4 separate regions of the Homo sapiens genome follow, and all the other regions are linked to region 1. The links are contacts of gene promoters, found by promoter capture Hi-C in blood cells and fetal thymus (Javierre and others, 2016). All regions are on one chromosome and are shown on one strand. The core of a region is centred on a gene start or on the middle of the fragment in contact, and the rest is flanking DNA. Distances in the headings are between cores, read along the strand shown.

What was found. Contacts are between HindIII fragments. The CHiCAGO score rates a contact against its expected background, and 5 or more counts as called.
Region 2: a fragment that was not itself captured here is called in contact with the fragment with the promoter of DBX1 in region 1 in 3 of 17 cell types (fetal thymus, activated CD4 T cells and endothelial precursors); the score reaches 7.4 in fetal thymus.
Region 3: a fragment that was not itself captured here is called in contact with the fragment with the promoter of DBX1 in region 1 in 2 of 17 cell types (activated CD4 T cells and non-activated CD4 T cells); the score reaches 7.0 in activated CD4 T cells.
Region 4: a fragment that was not itself captured here is called in contact with the fragment with the promoter of DBX1 in region 1 in 8 of 17 cell types (activated CD4 T cells, naive CD4 T cells, fetal thymus and 5 more); the score reaches 11.6 in activated CD4 T cells.

Annotation. Positions count from the first base shown.
Region 1 is chr11:20,159,026-20,161,725 of GRCh38, forward strand. It overlaps DBX1 (developing brain homeobox 1), which reads right to left and starts at 1,450. Exons shown (of 4, transcript NM_001029865.4): 1 at 933-1,450; 2 at 166-267. The coding sequence starts at 1,299. RefSeq lists enhancers at 1,830-2,331, 2,332-2,700. The HindIII fragment of the contact is 3,864 bases long and covers 1-2,700 here.
Region 2 is chr11:20,331,887-20,334,586 of GRCh38, forward strand. No RefSeq gene overlaps it. Among named protein-coding and RNA genes, the nearest start is that of HTATIP2, 30 kb to the right of the region's middle. The HindIII fragment of the contact is 4,082 bases long and covers 1-2,700 here.
Region 3 is chr11:20,382,697-20,385,396 of GRCh38, forward strand. HTATIP2 (HIV-1 Tat interactive protein 2) reads left to right here. Exons shown (of 5, transcript NM_001098522.2): 5 at 284-1,086. The coding sequence ends at 509. Among named protein-coding and RNA genes, the nearest start is that of PRMT3, 3.7 kb to the right of the region's middle. RefSeq lists a silencer at 2,214-2,414 and an enhancer at 2,347-2,700. The HindIII fragment of the contact is 764 bases long and covers 1,029-1,792 here.
Region 4 is chr11:20,349,321-20,352,020 of GRCh38, forward strand. No RefSeq gene overlaps it. Among named protein-coding and RNA genes, the nearest start is that of HTATIP2, 13 kb to the right of the region's middle. The HindIII fragment of the contact is 2,107 bases long and covers 369-2,475 here.

The sequences.
Region 1 (2,700 bases), core at 200-2,699:
CATCAAATTGGCGCGACGGATTCATGAATGTTATACGCCTCGCAACCTCTGAACCAGAGCATAACCCCGAGGGGTGGACGGAGAAATACGGCTTCGGAGCAGGGAGCGATGGGCCGGGGCTGGGGCGCCGCCCTGCCTCGCGCAAAGAAGGGGGACGAGACCTACCTGGGAAATAAGAAGATCTGATGAAAGGCTGAAAAGACCCTTCGAAGTAGGGAAAGGCGAAGGTCTTGGGAGGGACGCTCTGGAGCAAGGCTGGGGATGTTTCTGGTGGGCGATGGAGGGGGGACAGAAGGAGAGAGGGAGACAGAAAGAATCTGATTACGTACTTGCCTATTGTATAGCACACTGAACACACGATATAATTAGCCCTTCATCTGGTTTCAAAGACATCTTTCTTATACGTTGACAGGGTAAAATAAATCTTCCCAACATTGTCTTATCTGTAAAACTCTTTTCTTTCTCCCCAACGTAATTCTCTGCGCCGTCCCACTCTACCCCAATCTCCATCCTAGGCACTAACGAGATAGGACTGAGTGGGGAGGAAAGAAATTGCAGATTTATAATATTTGCTAATCCAATAAATATATCATATTGAGTTTAAAAAAAAAAACTGTCTCCTAGAAGCTCGAAGGCAGAAACGCAGACGTCCAGGAGCGTGCGCTCAGCGTTACTGCACCAGATGACTGCGCACAGTCTCCGACTGCGTGTGCTCAAGTTCACTCCGAGGATGGGGCGAGCCTGGAGGCTTTTCTTCCCCGGAATTGACTGGACTATTCTCACATTGCCTGACGTAGGGTCTCAGAGTTCGTGCGTATTGTGTGTGCACCGATGTGTGTGTGGGGGCCCGCTCGCTAGAGGAAACTGAGGCCAGGATGACTCCGCGCATGCCTAGTACCTGAATGGGCCCTTAGGGTTCTGACCTCGCTTACCTGTTCTGGGCCCCGAGGAGAGGATGGCGTTCACTCCAAACTTCAGAAACGTCGTCTCGCTGGCAGGGGAGAAGGCAGTCGGCGGAGAGCCGCCCCGTCGGCTGCCGGGACCCGGGGAGCCCAGGTCCGAGGCCCCCGTGTCGGTGAGGGCCGTGGGGGCCCCCTGCCTGGGCGGCGACATGCTGGCGGTGGGCACGCTGCGGGGCAGGTAGGCGGGGGGTCGGCTGATGCGGATCAGATCCTCCACCAGGAAGCTGGAGTGGCCGGAAAATGCCGACTGCAAGGACTGGGGCAGCGTCAAGGTGGGCGTGGGCCGCAGGAGGCTAGGGTACCCGGCGGGGGGCGCGAGGAGGCCGGGGAACATCATGGTAGGCGCGGGCGGGCGAAATAACCCTTCTTTCAGTGGCCGGAGGGTAAACGCCTCGCTTCCCGCCCCTCCCGCCCCCACAGTGTCCTCTCTCTTGGGCTTAGCAAACGTCTCCAAGTAACAATCCCACTTGGGCGTCTGCGAGTCCTCCGTGGTCCTCTCGTCGAGGTGATGGTTTTATAGTGGCCCGCCCGCTAAAGCACTTTGAAAAGTGACAGCTCTGACAATGAAGTTCAACAAAGTTCTCCACTCGAGCTTCATTCGCCGGAGGCTCTGGACTCTCTGATTGGCGCAGGGGTGCAATTTATGATTGGATTAGTCTTCATAAGCATGGCCCGCACAATGGGCCGGCAACAAAGGCCCGCGCGCATCAATTTTGCATATCGACCGCCTCTTTGCAATACAGTGCGCCCCCAAAGCTCTCGCCAAAGGTTTTTGTTCCGAAGCAACACCCGGGCTAATTAAATGCCTATTTAGAAGTTTCAGATGACATCTTGCCTCATAGAAAAGGAATTATTTAAAGAACCCACTAAATTTATTTGCAGCTCCCCTGCTAAGCCTGGAAAATAAATCAATAAATATTCATAGAAATACATCTTCAGGCTATCAGCAAAGTTGCCCTCCCTCTTGTGGGGGTAGGGCAATGAAAAGTTTCAAGTCAGTGGACATGAAAATATACTCCCTTTCCGGTCTCTAGCCCTATCCGTTACTCCAGCTGAAGCATAAAGCAAATGTAGGGGTGAGTGAAATCAGTGTTAGAAGTCCCATTCTGACGACTCAGGGAAACTTGGAAACGGATGCTTTGGGGCCACTGGATGTGTGTCCGTAAGAGTGGGGAGAGGTCTGGAGTTATTTCATTTCGGGAGACTGGTTGAGTTTGAGCGTTGGTGGATACCTGAAAAGTAAAACGAGTCTCCTTCAAATTCCCAGCAACTTGGAAAACGATTTTCTCTAGGAGTTTCTGCAAGGGGCTGTCCGCACCTCACCTTGCGGGAGGAGCGGAGGAGAGCGGCGCTGGGCTGCCGAGCGGCAGGATTCCGCTTGCAAAGAGCTTAGGCTGACCGGAAACTGCCTCGGGCAAGGGTATCCAAAGGCTGTGAGTGCTATGCTGGCCGTTCTCCAAACACAGGGAGCTCTCGGCAGTTTAAGTTGAAACTCACAGCCCTGACATTTTAAGCCATAGCAGCGAAGGTCCAGACGTCGTCTGGAGAGAACCCTACCACTTGCGGGGCCCTTAACTTGGCCCAAGGTTTGGCAGCTTCTTAATTAACTACAACGCACAAACGCGTGAAAACCAGAGGGAAGGGATGCGGTTCCCAAGAATGTTGGTCCACTCCGGGAAAGCCTCCCCTGAATGTGGGGCTTCAAAGGAGAATCTTCCTGGAGACAGTCCCTTCGCTT
Region 2 (2,700 bases), core at 175-2,674, 170 kb after region 1:
CCTTTCTGATACAATGAGACTCCACACCCATGACATTGGAAAATGGGCTCTTTAGTGAAATACTAAAAAACAAACAACAGGATTATGTAGCCTCTCATCTTGCCTTCAAAGAATAGGGTTTTGAAACTGGTAGCAATTCAAAGATTTTTGCTGGACACTCTTAACTGCAGGGCTAGTAGCACTAACCATAAAGGTGTATAATCCCAGCTTTCACATAACGGAAGATCATCATTGCTGCCTGGTTGTACAGTACAGAGCTAAAACTACAGTATAGTCAATGAAAGTTACAGCATACTCAGACCACAGGTTAGGGCCCATATGTCAAAAGGATTTTTTAAATTAAGGAATCCAACCACTGCTGCAAACAAAAGATTCAGATTTTAAGTTTTATAATTTGTGCCTGCCATTTTTAATAATATTAATAATTAAACAATCTTATATGCTTCCTAGGTCATAAAAACCCAAAAATCTGCCTTTAATTTGGCTTTTCAACATGACGTGGTAGAGCAGAAAGCAATTGCTCTTAGGCTAGAACACCTGATTCAATTTCTGGCTCCAACACTTGCCTGGTATGGCCTTTATGCAGGTCATAAACCTCTGAGATTCCCTTCCTCTTCTGTAAAATGGGAATAACAGTGAAACCCACTCTACAGAGTCATTGTGAATGTACAATTACGCAATATATGATGCAAAAGTATTTTATGGCTGGGGATGGTGGCTCACACCTGTAATCCCAGCACTTTGGGAGGCCAAAGCAGAAGGATAACTTGAGCCCAGGAGTTCAGGACCAGCCTGGGCAACATAGTGAGACCCCATCTCTACAAAAAAATTTTAAATTACCTGGGCTTTGTGGCATGCATCTGTAGTTCCAGCTACTTGGGGGGCTGAGGTGGGAAGATCGCTTGAGACCAGCAGGTTGAGGCTGCAATGAGCAGTGATACACCATTACACTTAGCCTAGATAACACAGAGAAAGACCCTGCCTCAAAAAGCAAAACAACAACAACAAAACCAAAAAGTGCTTTGTATATTAAATATATCATTTAGGGTGATTTAGGTTGCAAGTAAGAGAAAATCCATTTCAAAGTAGCTTAAATATGCAGAAAATGTGTTGGCTTTCATACTTGATAAGCCATGAGATGGTTTAGGCTTCACCTCTTTTCTCCACACACCTCTCCACCCTGCTCTTCAGTGTGGGTGAACTTATCATTAGGTGGGCTTCAGGCATAGTCTTAAGATAGCTGACAGCAGAAGACTGGGCTTTCTCCTTCACATCCTGGAAAAGAGGATGCTTTACGCATCCTTCAAACACAGGTCTGAGTTTCACTGTGCTTAGACCAATCCTGAATAATGTCAAAGAAGTAAGGATCAACCAGATTGATTGAGAGCAATCAGAGCCCACCCCAGGACCAAAGTATAACGTCTATAACACCCAAAGTGTATGGATGCTAGGCAATGAGTGATGGTTTTCCAAAGGAAAGTTAGAATGAGAAAAAGGAAACAAATGAGGAGAAGGTACAAATCTCCACTCCATTGCATAAATGGTACAGCTTTGTATTCTGATGGATGTTAGTATCACACCTGAGTTTGGATACACACTTTTTACATCTGTGTTTTTAATCTCCCTACAGTTTTGCCTTAAGATATTTAAGTGGTTGAACTTATGACATTTACTTCCTTACTTTTTGTTGCCACTTCTCAAATTACTGAGATTATTCCAATGATGTAAGTCATATTACACATTCTATTTGTAATATATGGAAGAACTTAGAAAACTGCACTATACAAATGGCAGATACTCTCCTTGCTTCTTTGATTTCAATATGGTCTTTTGAGTTGGGGATGCTGACTACCATGTTAGGATCAGATGATTCTCTGTGTAGTCAAGTTCCTTGCAAACTAGATTCATTCATAAAGGATATGCCTTATAGTTTCCAAGAAAAACTACTCAGCCTAGCCCTCATTAAACAATGTAGCCTCAGGATTTTCTGAAACAGGTGGTTCACTGTAATTCTTAATAGAATAGCACTAACCATTTTTGCAACAGCTTAATTTATATGACTTCACAGCTCCCAATATGCTTAAAAAGAATCTAAGCGATGGATGGATGTTGAAATTTTGTAGATGTTAGGCCTGGGGATCAGACCCCTGCATAAAGGGTATGTCTAATGTAAACTGAAAACAATCATAACCAAAATCCGTAGCAAAATAAATACTTAAGACCTAAAGTTTTACTTCTTTCTATACTTCCTAAATATCATGAGACTTAAAAGTCTGCAACTTTACAATTGTTATGTGTTTTTACATATCTTTGTTCATTTGATTCTCACAACTTCCTTTGAGATAGATTAGTGAAGAATTACTAGCTTCACTGTTCCAATAAGGAAACTGAACCCAAGAAAGATTAAGGAGTTGTCAAAGGTCAAATAGGAAGTGTCAAATCCAGGTCTTTTGCTTCCAAGTTCAGTGCTCTTTCTACAACAGCATGGTGTACACATTTGGAAGTTTGTGGAGACTACTACAAAAATATCAGATTCACTTTGGGCTCTGGGAAAGAACTTAAACATCTGTGTTAGTAAACTCTTGAAATCAATTAGTAAGATAAGAATAGAGTCTTCGGCTGGGCGCGGTGGCTCACACCTGAAATCCCAGCACTTTGGGAGGCCAAGGCGGGCAGATCACTTGAGGTCAAGAGTTCGAG
Region 3 (2,700 bases), core at 161-2,660, 220 kb after region 1:
CCTTTCTTCTTAGTGTATGCAGACAGAGAGAGACCTCTGATGTCTCTTCCTCTTATGAGGACCCCAGTCCCATCACACTAGTCCTATTCCATCCTTAAGACCTCATTAAACTTAATTACTTCCCTTAATGCCTTATCTTCAAATATAGACACCTTGGGGATTAGGGCTTCAACATTAGAATATTGAGGGGATACAGTTTTGTCCGTAATGCCCACTGTGGTCTCAGTGCAATTTACCACCTCTTCCTCTGCTTTTCTTTCTTTTTTTTTTTTTTTTATTTTAGAGTTCTGTTATGTGATAGGCAAGAATCTCGCCCAGGTGAATGGCTGGTTAGAAAGTTCTTTGGCTCCTTACCAGACTCTTGGGCCAGTGGGCATTCTGTGCCTGTGGTGACCGTGGTTAGAGCAATGCTGAACAATGTGGTGAGACCAAGAGACAAGCAGATGGAACTGCTGGAGAACAAGGCCATCCATGACCTGGGGAAAGCGCATGGCTCTCTCAAGCCATGACCACATTGGAGAAATGGTTTTTATTGTCAACCTTAACACCCATCACCAAATCGGTAATTTCAGGGTCTAAAAAAAGTCAGCATGTTTTAACTTTGTTGTTTTACTATCCTCAGGCATCCATTCCAATCAAGAAATGATGGTGCTCTGCATCAGTGGTTCAGAGCCTGGTTATACATATAGATCACTCAGGGAGCTTTGGAAAAATAAAGATTTGTCAGCCCTATCTCAAACTTGAATCAAAATTTCTGGGGTGTGGGCACAATAATCTGTAATTTTCTTTGTTTATACTTCCCCTGATGCCACTGGTTCCGATGCCACTGGCTGGGGGGCCTGCTTTGAAATGCTTGTCTGCAGAGTCACAGCAGCCATGAAAACCTTATGACCGTGCAAATGAGCTCTGCTCTAAAATTGTTGACATTCATGTCTCTGAGTTACAAAAGTGCTAATTCACTACATGTAATTGTGTAAGTAAACATTGTGCCTTTACTACTTCTTTATGTAATAGAAGTTATATACCTAAGCTTATATAATACATGGGGAGGATTAAATAAAGGAATAAAGATGAATGGACAACTCCTGGGTGCCTCTTAGATTGCTTGAAAATGCCCATGTAGTGTGATATGCAGCATTTCAGCCTATGGGGTGATATAATAGCAGCTAATATTTACCAAATGCTTGCTAAGTACCAGTCTTTACATGTGTTATCTGTGCTTTAACCCTCTTATAAACAATCCTTATAAAGTGATACTATCATGATCTTCATGTCTTAGATGGGGAAATGAGGCTCACTGTGGTTAAGTGCCTTGCTCAAGAGTCCAAATCTGAAGAACTGAAGCAAAGAAATGGCAGAGTCAGGATTCTAACCCAGGTCTGCCTGATCCCATAGATCCCATATATCGTGTTTTTAAGCACCCTGCAAAAGCATTCTGTTCCCGTATATTTCCAGGTAGTTCCAGTTGATTGTTACTACATGTTGTGGATGAACAAAATCGAAATATTTGGGTTTCTCCTTTGTTCTAGTGATTAATTACTAAATGTTCACATAGCCAGTAAAATTCTATGCCACCAAACTTTAAAGTGCTCATGCTGCTGCACTTTAAAAATTAAGGCAAAGGAAGATGCAGAAGGAAGGGTCAAAGCCAAGAGGAACATACATTGCTAATTTCCATCATAGAACAAAAGATGTTAATGTAACTTGTCTTAACGTCTGCACCAGGGAAGCAAAGTGATTCGAGGGACTCAGTCAATTCTTCCAAGGCCTACTGTATGCCAAGTACATTTCAAGCTTCAGTATACACTGGAGGATAAAGGCCATTCTCCTTAATTTGGAGTGTATATCCTTAGAAGGGAGAAGACATTCCCAGTGTCAGTCACCCAAAAAAGAGGCATATTTTAGGGCAGGGTGGGATATTGAAATGTGAGCTTTAAAAGGAAATGAAATATCTTCCTTCTGCCAGGTGGGGTTCCCTGGGAGTTGGACTTTGAAGAGCCTAAGTGTGTTGTTTTGATGGTGAAAAAGCATGGGCCGAGGATATGTTGAGGCCTCTGGGCTCTGAAAGCAGCTAAACCCAGTGGCCTGTTTTAAGTTATTCTCCTTATATTATTTCCTTACTCACAAACCTTCGAGCAGGTTTCATTCAACATGTTATTCTGGTCTCAGTAGTGATGTGGGATAATGAGGAAGGGTCTGTGTTCACCTTTGGAGTAGAGAGAAAAGCAGCCCTCTCTTGAGCTCTGCATTGTGGTGAGATATGAACTTACTAAGGAACAAGACTCTGGCCCAATCACTCCTCCACAATGGGTGTTAACTTGTTTTATTGTCAACACTGAATGGACTGGGTGTTCCATTTAGTACTAAGGGATTCAGGAAGTTTTCCACCAAATGTTACACAGACAGAAAAAGTTTATGTTGGAAGGATGAAGGGAAAAGTTGGATGGGCCCAGGTAATCAAGTGTTCATTAATTCATTCAGCAAATGCTTATTCAGTGCCTTTCATGTGCCACTGAGCACACAGGCACTGGGGATGCATCCATGAACGATGACTCCAACTCAAGAGAGCCAGCAGCTATTCTGGCAATGTCCTAGGATGTAAGAAAGCTTCAAAATTAATATTTGGGCCGGGTGCGGTCAATCACGCCTGTAATCTCAGGACTTTGGGAAGCCGAGGTGGGCAGATCACTTGAGGTCAGG
Region 4 (2,700 bases), core at 172-2,671, 190 kb after region 1:
ACTATAAATCCAACCTCAGAACAAAATATACAATAAAAATGAATTGCTTGACATATATCAAGTACAGCAGTAAAATTTTAAAAAGCTATATGTTTAACTTTTTAGGTTCTTTGCTCCTGTGATATTTTTGATATTTGCCTGATTTGTCAGCAAAAACAAAAAATAATTTGAGGTGATGGCTGTGTTTAATATCTCATGAAATTTTCATGAGCAATTCAAGCATAATTACTAAGAACAAGTGAATTACTGTAAGTGGGATAAAAGTTTGTAAATGAACTTTTCAGCAATAATTATGATGTATAAATTATGGTTTTTAATATGTCTACTTAAAAATAGTTTCCACTCTTTTTGGTAATTTGAAACCTTAAAGCTTTAGTAAGTTAAGTTAAATTATGAGTATTCATTGAACATCTAGATCATTTCCAAATAAGATGAAACAATGAAACATTAATTGCTGAATATAAGTTTAAGTTTGTATACTTCTGTCATCTTGTTTTTATGCAGTATAGAGAATCTAAATATATTTGAGTCTGCTAATAAATATGAGAAATTGTACTATGAGGAAACAGCATATACCTATAAGAAATGTGAGATGAGGCTGGCATGGTGGCTCACGCCTGTAATCCCAGCATTTTGGGAGGCTGAGGTGGAAGGATCACTTGAGACAAGGAGTTTGAGACCAGCCTGGTCAACATAGCAAGACCCCATCTCTACAAAATAAAAAGTAAAAAAAATTAGCCAAGTGTGGTGGTGCATTCCGACAGTCTCAGCTATTCAGGAGGCTGAGGTGGAAGGATCGCTTGAGCCTGGAAGGGTGAGGCTGCAGTGAGCAGTGATTGTGTCATTGTACTCTAGGCTGGGCAACAGAGCAAGACCCTGTCTCCAAAAAAAAAAAAAAAAAAAAAAAAAAAAAAAAAAGAAAGAAAGAGAGAAAAGAAAAGAAAAAGGGAAAAAAAGAATGTTAGTGTCATAAATGTATGATGCAACAGTAAAATGATGGTTTTTTGGATTATGGGTCTTCTCTTAAAAAGAAATTGTAAAATGGCTTTTCTTTACCTTTTAAGTAACCTGCCTAGCAAACAAAGATTTGTGTCTGATCAAAATAATTTCCTGTGCTTCATGTTGTCTTTTCAGTTCTTGCAGGCCCAGGAACTTCATAATATTGGGGGAACCTTAAGAAAAGAGGAATTTGCCTAAATATGCAGAGATTGCAGGCAAGGTCTGATGGCAAGTCCCTGGCATGGCTTCCTAGCCTTAAGAGGCTTTTAAAAGTCTAATCTGAGATTTTTTTATGCAAAGTTTTAGCAAAGCGAACTAAAAGAAAGGGACCTATGTGGTCAGTCACTATTCTTGCTGTAGTATTGTCAACAATCCGACCAAGTTTAATGAGACTAGGCTCCTTTTGCAAACAAATTAGTTTCACTTTGATTATTTTTTAGAGAAATGGAGGTGATTGTAGAGAGAAAAATTATGTTTCAATGGAAACCTGTAGCACAGCTTTGTGAGTATTCCATTTTAGTCTTGTTCATTGTCTTTAAGGTTTTGTTATCTACCTATAAACTGAGTCCTGAATCTTCTAGTTTCCTCCAATATCTGTCTACAGCTCTTCAAATTAATGTTTCACATTTTTCTCTAGCCTCCTAAAATGGCACCACGGAGAGCTAAAACCTGACGGCTCATATTTTTATTGGGACTGTCTTTAACCTCCTTTTTGGGTCTTTATTTCCTAATGAAGGCTTCCATGTCACATAAAACATCTTAAATACATTCATATGACTTTCTCTTGTTAATCTGTCCTTGGTTATAGGGGCTTCAGCTAAGAACTTAGAAGGATAGAAGGAAAGGTTGGTTTTCCTCTCCTACACAGACAAATACCCGCACAGGTCCAGGTCCAGTAGGGAAGACAGTGCATCTCTTTTCATGGTTAACAGCCAAATAGGAATTATGTCACATGAGGTCTGATTGAGTAATGTGCCTAACCCTAAAACAATCGCTGTTGTCGGGGAAGGAAACGTTCAGACTGGCTAGAAGTGAATCATAGGCCCAGCCTTAGAGTTGAAAGTAGAATTGCTGCTAGAGTCACCTGCAGGACGGGGAATGGGAAGGGGCGGGCCACAAAGGAAATAAGGAATCGATGCTGGATAAAACAGTACAGCTGTCTGCTACAAGTGTTGTCACTCATTGATGTAAAAATAAACACCAATAGATGACACAGCATAAAATTTGCATGAATTTTTAAGAAAATATATATAATTTCATTAAAATTTATTTTTGCATTCCCCAAGCTCCAAAAATAGGTTTGCACTTTTCCCTACTCTAAGGAGTGTCTCGATATATTTACTCAATATTTACTGAGCATCCGCCAAGTGCCAGGCACTAATCCAGGTGGCAGGAATATAGTAATGAACCAAACAGATACAACTCCTGTCTTCATGGAGTTTGCTTTCTAGTGGGATGTTCACCTGCACCCACCCAAGCTTCTGCTCACAATCTGAGACGACTGAATAAGGCATTCATTCCTCAGCCCTTCTCCCCAGCTTTCTTTTAAACTGGGAGAAAAATATGTTTCTTAGCTCAGCTCTTCTAATGTCATTGCCAAGAGGGAATTTAGCCTCAAGGAACATTCCATGTCTTTTCCTCCTGGCTGTCTGCCTTTCAGTCTCTAGACTCTTCTTCCTCCCTAGAAGGGAGAGGTCTAGG